Regions from separate parts of the Homo sapiens genome. Here region 1 is linked to region 2. The links are contacts of gene promoters, found by promoter capture Hi-C in blood cells and fetal thymus (Javierre and others, 2016). All regions are on one chromosome and are shown on one strand. Each heading gives the region's core, a stretch centred on a gene start or on the middle of the fragment in contact. The rest is flanking DNA. Distances are from core to core; before and after follow the strand shown.

What was found. The method cuts DNA at HindIII sites, captures the fragments that hold promoters and counts their contacts. A CHiCAGO score of 5 or more calls a contact.
Region 1: a fragment that was not itself captured here is called in contact with the fragment with the promoter of STYK1 in region 2 in 1 of 17 cell types (M2 macrophages); the score reaches 7.3 in M2 macrophages.

Annotation. Positions count from the first base shown.
Region 1 is chr12:11,490,824-11,494,419 of GRCh38, reverse strand. No RefSeq gene overlaps it. Among named protein-coding and RNA genes, the nearest start is that of LINC01252, 55 kb to the left of the region's middle. The HindIII fragment of the contact is 6,876 bases long and covers 1-3,596 here.
Region 2 is chr12:10,672,638-10,676,274 of GRCh38, reverse strand. It overlaps STYK1 (serine/threonine/tyrosine kinase 1), which reads left to right and starts at 2,223. Exons shown (of 11, transcript NM_018423.3): 1 at 2,223-2,309. The HindIII fragment of the contact is 4,755 bases long and covers 1-3,637 here.

The DNA.
Region 1 (3,596 bases), core at 1,027-3,526, 820 kb before region 2:
CTATCATCAAGTTCCATCCATTTTACTTCCTAAACGTTTCTCAACTTGATTCACTTCTACCTCACTGCCACAGTCCTATAAAACTATCATTACCCTTTACTTGGAATGCAAGATTCCTAGATTCCTAACTGGTGTCTCTAATCTACCCTCATCTATTTTTCTTCTCTACCAAAAGTCTAGTTTTTCTTCTGATTTCTTTTATTTTTTCTCACTTTCTCTCCTTTCCCATCCCTTCCTGAACAATTCAATCCTAAACCATCTTTGGTATGGGAGGTGGTACAGAGCTAACATAGCCTGGTATGGGTGTCAGAACCTGCACTGGGTGAAGACAGTGTTAATGTGAGGAAGGAGTGTGTCCTGATGCGGAGTGTCAGAGCCCAAGCCAGTTAAGGAAGGCATCTTATGGGAGAGTGGCTTGCAATGGGAATCAGAGTCAGAGCAGGGAGGGAGTGGCAGGGAAGATGGGAGATAAGTTACATACACTGGGATTGATCAAATAGGTAAATATATTTAAGGTTATTGGAAGCCAGGTTTTTCACTATCTGAGAAGGAAATTGCAAGTATAGAAAGAGAAGAAACTGGAATGATCCCTGTGATCTGTGGTACTAGATTGGGATTGAAGGTATCAGTAGATTTATGGTTTTTAGTATGTAGGTAGACAGATACAGATAAAGGTGTAGATGTAAATGTAATTGGTGTGTGTATGTATGTTTGTACTGAAAAAAAAAAGGAGCCAAACAAATAAAATTATGGGAAAATGGCAAAAGGACATGAAACCAGCTCAAATGGCTTCCACTGATCAAATCTGCTTCATGGTGTAGCCCAGGGGTTTTTAAACATTCTGTATAATCATCAACTTAAAAATACAATGCCAGGAGTGTCCATAGTTTGTGGTAGCACGTAGACAGATATAGATATGGGTATAGAAGTAAATGTGATGGTATTTGATATTTTCCTCTTGTAGTTCTCATGGAATGTCTTGACTGGTGTAGAATAGAATTGAATCATTATCTTTTAGAGTCTAGATTTGATAATTCTGCTAATATAGTCTAGGATCACATTAATTATTGGGTGGGAGAGACATTTGGGCGGTAAGAGGACATTTACTATTGGTGATATCAAGTTTTCCGTCTATTGAAATGTTAATATATTTTCTTCATGTCCAGCTGCTAAGCTACATTGTTTTTAAACTATATGTATGAAGCTGAGATGTTTCACTGGGTCATGTGATGCCTCATTATTCTATTGATTTATTTGAAAAAACATTGTGAACATGAAATCATGTCAAAGGCTTTCTTATGCTGACAGGTGGCCAGGGGCTGAAGAATGCTGATTATCCCCCTCCTTTGTGATGTCATATTACCTTTAGAGCCTTCAATTTCACCACTTGCGTGGACCATAATAGTTTTTATGTCTCCCAATGTAGTTTGTAGTTTGCTCCCCCGTGGATTGCCTATTACTTCCGGGTCAAATTATATGTTATCTATTTCTACCCTCCGACACCCACCTTTACAGTAGCTGCTTATTAGTGTGTGACTGGTCTGGTGAGTAAGCACAGTGAAGGGACTGGCCTCAGAATGCACACTTACGGAGCCAGATAATGGTTCTCAATGACTGACCGCGTCCAAATGGAGAGGAAAACAGACATTAAATGCCTCCTGAAGAACCGCTGACACCTATGATGTAGTCTTGCAGAGCAAAAATTGGCCCTGAGCCCGATCAAGCCTCAGGGTGTAACTACCAATGTATAGGAAATAGACAAAACAGAAGAATGTGTTAAATGGCATTAAAGGCATGTAGCTCAGCAAAATCCAGACTGTGGGGGAAATTCTATAGAAAAAACAACCCAGCTATTTCAATTAAGATTTTTAAAAGCAAGAAAAAATAGACAAAAGGAGGAATTTATAGATAAAATGAGGCTTAGGAGACATTTCAATTCATCACAGGGTCTGAATCATATCTGCAAAACAATTCAAACAAACAAATGGAAAAAGCGTTTTAAGATCAGAGAAATAGAAACATGAAATACTTAATGATACTAAGCAATTAATTTTCTAGGTGTGGTAATAATGATGCCAATTATAATCCCAAAAGACACAATTCCGAATGCTGTAATCCCAAATGTTGAAACCCCAAATGTTGAGATACTGAAAGCTGAATTCTGGCGATGGGATTAGCGCATTTTTGGTTGCATAAAAGGTAGTTGTATCATGTTAGTTGCATCATGTTTGGTGGAACTAGCACCTTGTTGTGGTCTTTATTTGGAAATTAAATATGGTGTAAGGAGATGCAAGTAAGTGTCATGTTAACAAGAGGTGAATTTGTGGACTTAATTTTAGATGTAAACTTAACCAGATTAAGGAATAACTAAAAACCTGGTAAAGCATTATTTTGGGTGTGTCTGCGAGGACGTTTCCACAGGAGATTATGTATGAGTCTGAGAGGACTATGTGGGGAAGATCTGCCCTTGGTGGTGGGAGACACCATGCCGTGGGCCAGGAGCCCAGGAGCCCAGAGATAACAAATACAGAAGGTGAATTGATCTGTCTCTGAGAGCTGGGACCAACTTGTCCCATCACAATTTTTGATCGATCTCATCAAAAGACTTAGGATGCTCTTCACGGTATTTCAGATGAACTAAGAAAGCTGGGTGCACACATTTACTAACCATAGTGATATGCGTTTATACATTTCACTTTTTGACCTATTTCCTTTTTTTCCTTCAACTTTTATTTTAAGTTCAGGTGTTCATGAGCAGGGTGTGCAGGTTTGTTACATAGGTAAATGTGTGCCATGGTGGTTTGCTGCACAGATCAACCCATCACCTAGGTATTAAGTCCAGCATCCATTAGCTATGCTTCCTGATGCTCTCCCTCCCCACCGACACCCCCCAGTAGGCCCCAGTGTGTGTCGTTTCCCTCCATGTGGCTTTTTGACCTATTTCTTTGTGAATATGATTCATAATTGTTATACCCATGTGACTGTCTTTAGCATACCTGAGTGTTTATGTTTATGAAAATATGTATGTTATTATTGTCCATTTTATTGTGTAAAGTGGCCTATGGTCTGTTGTGTTTTTATGTTTCTCAAATAAATCCTCTTTAAAACATGTAAATGAATGTCTTTTAAAGAATTTTTTATGATTTATTTTAGGAATTTGACCTTTCGGGATTTGAGATTGTGGCATTTTGAGTTGTATCTTTTGGGATTATGAACCCAGTAACAACAAAGATCAAATGGACTGACTCTCTATTCTGTTGCATTGATCTATATGTCTCTCTTTATGTCAATATTATATTAACTTGATTACTATAGCTTTATTTTATTTAAAAACACAGAATTTAATATCTTCTTTAATTCACTAAATAGGATACAAAAAGCATGAACCACAAAAAAATGAGAAATTGGACTTCACCAAAATTTAAAACTTCTATTTTTTCCACACGCACTTTCTGCTTATCTAAAAAACTTGTTTTTTGAACAACACTATTAAGAAAATAAAAGCTGGGTGCAGTGGCATGCCCCTGTAGTAGTCCCAGCTACTTGAGATGCTGAGGTGGAAGGATTGCTTGAGCCCAGGAGTTTGATGATTGTAG
Region 2 (3,637 bases), core at 974-3,473:
TGCCTTCCGTAAATAGATTCCACCCCACTAAACCAGTAGATTCCTTCCTCACAACTGCAGAATCATACAAGAGGGAATATACTAAGTAACACATGGATGGATGGCTTTAACAGTTTAGAGGAGCGCAGGATCTGGCAGTTAGGATTCATGTAGGCTAAACTGGAGAAGGAAGAGATCTCCAGTGTATATTTCAGTGTGACTTCCCACTACCGTTCAGTACTTAATCTGGACAGAGAGATAATGGGCATTCAACAAATTCCTATGGAATTAATAATGAGGCAGAAATAACGATCTGGTAGAAACACTGGGGCCAAAGCATTGTTGACAATGAGTTGGAGGCTTATAAATTTGAGATGGAGGTAATAATTGAAATTACAAGGGAATGAAAACTTGAAGAAAAAAGAGAAATAATGGATATTCTAACCATCTTATTAATGAGTATAATGTGTGGGACTAGCTATACATATATAACTCCTGGTGAATGTCTGCTGTGTAACTCAGACTATTTGGTACTTAGTTGTTTCTGTGTGTGGGCATTATCATTTCCAGTGTTTTCTCTAACTCAAAATGTTTTTAATGTATAATTTATGTGATTTGCTCAAAAAAATTGGAGAGAAAAATTTTGCCTCCCCTTTCTGGATTGTATTTTGGTTTCTTTTTTAACTTCTATTTCTATAATAGTAACTAGATTTTAGACAAAATTCTGTGCATCAGAATGAGTATCTAGCAATACATTGCAGAAATTTTAAAAATGAGTAAACCACTTTATCTGTCATGGAGGAGCATGCTTGGGGAGGTAGAGTAGAAAATTACATAATATGAAGTTCCAATCAGTTCATTTGGATTTGATGTATCACTTATGACATAAAGAATCTAAAGAACAACTAACTGATGAGATGTCTTCCTTTCCCCTTTTGAGGTAAAATTCACATAACATAAAATCAACCATTAGCCATTTAAAAATGAACAGTTCAGTGGCATTAAGTACAATTCATCCTGTTTTTAAAAAGCCCTGAAGGAAGTGAAAATGCCAATAGAGAAAGCTCTAGAGAACTGACATACCTCAATCTCTAAATATGCCACATTACATTGACTCAAGTTCTTTTTGCTCTAATGACTGTCAGTTTGTGTTTGGTATGCGTTCAATGCTGAATAAATTGGTCACATATTCAAGTTACCTATGACTCTTATTTCTTTAATTGAATTTGTATTAGGTGTTAATATCTAACAGAATTCCTTCAGCTATCTATTGTCTTAAGTATTTTCTATTATTTTAGTTTCCATGTGGACGGGTAACATAACTACCTTGTTCACTGTTTCCCCAGAGGAGAACCCAGGACATAATGGGATATATGTGTGTGTGTGTGTGTGTGTGTGTGTGTGCGCGCGCGCGCGCGCGCGGGCTCTAAATGAATGATCTATTACGTAATCTTGGGGTTTTAATTCTCATTAATTCCTTATAGGTTCCCCCACGTCTCCGCAGTGGTCAGTACTTTTTTTTTTCTTTTTTTTTTTTTTTTTTCTGAGACGGAGTCTTGCTCTGTCGCCCAAGCTGCAATGCAGTGGCACAATCTCGGCTCTATGCGATCTCTGCCTCCTGGGTTCAAGAGATTCTCCTGCTTCAGCCTCCTGAGTAGCTGGGATTATAGGCGCCCGCCATCACGCCTAATTTTTGTATTTTTAGTAGAGACGGGGTTTCGCCACGTTGGCCAGGCTGGTCTCGAACTGCTGACCTCAGGTGATCCACCCGCCTTGGCCTCTCAAAGTTCTGGGATTACAGGCGTAAGCCACCACTCCCGTCCCTTCAGTATTATCTTGTAACACCCCGGCAAAGCCTTCAGGTGGAGAATGTTCCTGGCGCGGAATAATCCACCTGAATGTGAATCCTGACCATTTTTAGGCGCCAATGGAGGCCGCTGCTACGGGGCCGGCCGTGAGGTGGCGCTGTTGCCCTGTATCGTGACTCCGTTTTCACCTGGACTGGAGTCACCGTGATACCTGACATCTAGCAATCACTAGAGTAGGAAATGAGTATAGATCAGCAACAAGTCCAGCCTTTACAGTTGCAGCAGAGGTTTCCTGTGGCTCGAGTGTGGCGAGTCCCGGAAACCTCGGAGCCCGCAGACTTCCCTTCGCGGGAGCCCGCCCGAACTCCATCCTTTGCCGGCAGCCACGCCCCGCAGTGGGAAGGAGGGACTGAAAAGCATTTCCTTGAGGCTGGCACACCTTGCCCTACCCAACCCTGTCATTATTTCCCCTCCGACTGGGCCGGTGCCATCGGAAACCGGAGTGACCAGAGGAGGGACACGGTAGTGAACGGGGTATGGGGGGCGGGCGCGGCGGGGAGGGTAAAGAAGGTGGGAAGGGAATGGCAGCGAGGCAGCTGGGGGAGGACTTTGCAGTTGGGGAGGGAGAAAAAGGGAAGAGGCTGGGAGCGGAACGGGTGTTTATGTGAACAAACAGAAATCACCAAGTGAATTAACCTGTGTTTCTTCGGAACCAGCATCTTGTGGGGTTTGGCTTCTGTGTTTCTATATGATAAGGGAGTAAACCTGACTCAGCAGATTTGGTGCAGAGAGAAACATGAGAAAACCCAGGAATGGGGGACCTCTGTTTATTCCTGGAGAGGGGGCCATCAGGAGAGGGGGAAGGGAAAGAATGAGGTTACAGGAATTACTTGTCAGAGGACTGCATAGCCTTTCAGACCATGGAATCGTTGCTTTCAGCTTCGGCTTCCTCATCTGCAAAGCATAAATACGGTAATTACTTTCCAGGGTTGTTGCGATATTTAAATGAGATATCAATAACCATGCTTTAAAAGTGTACAGCCTGATGTGCTATCCCTTGTTGACTGAATCTCTGTTTTCTTTCCTTCTTTTTATTTGGGGTGGGGAGTGGGGGAGGGAGTCTTGCTCTGTCACTCAGGCTGGAGTGCAATGGCGCGATCTCGGTTCACTGCAACCTCCGCCTCCCAGGTTCAAGCGATTCTCCTGCCTCAGCCTCCCAAGTAGCTGGGATTACAGGCTCCCACCACCACGGCCGGCTATTTATTTTTTTGTATTTTTAGTAGAGACGGGGTTTCACCATTTTAGCCTCTGTTTTCTTTTCAATGTCTTTTTTCCTCTTTCATTTTTCTCTATCAACCCTTCATCCCCCCTTTCTTTCTTTCATTTATGCGATTGTTGCTTCCTTCTGTAATGGGTCCTCTCCACATTGGAGTTTCTTATACCTATGAGACCACACTTCCTTCCCACTCGGTGGGAAGTAGTGGCAATAAAGGAGTCGAGTTACTGTAATGTGCAGCACAGCTCAACTGAAATACACCTGGAAACAGAACTCTGTGCTGTCTACCTGGTTTTTCCCCCTCAATGCACCGGAATCTCCACTGACAGCTAGCTAGGGGGCAGCTAGGTCTTTCAATGAGACATCATGAAGTATTTGCTTCAATGAAAATCATATACTTTTTCGTTCAGTGCCTCCATTACTGTGTGAGTTTGCTAGGGCTGCTGTAACAAGGTACCACAAACTGCATGGCTTTTGGCACCAGGCACCAGGGACTGATTTTGTGGAAGACAATTTTTTTCACAGATGCCGATGAGGTTGGCGGGAGATGGTTTCAGAATGAAACTGTTCCACC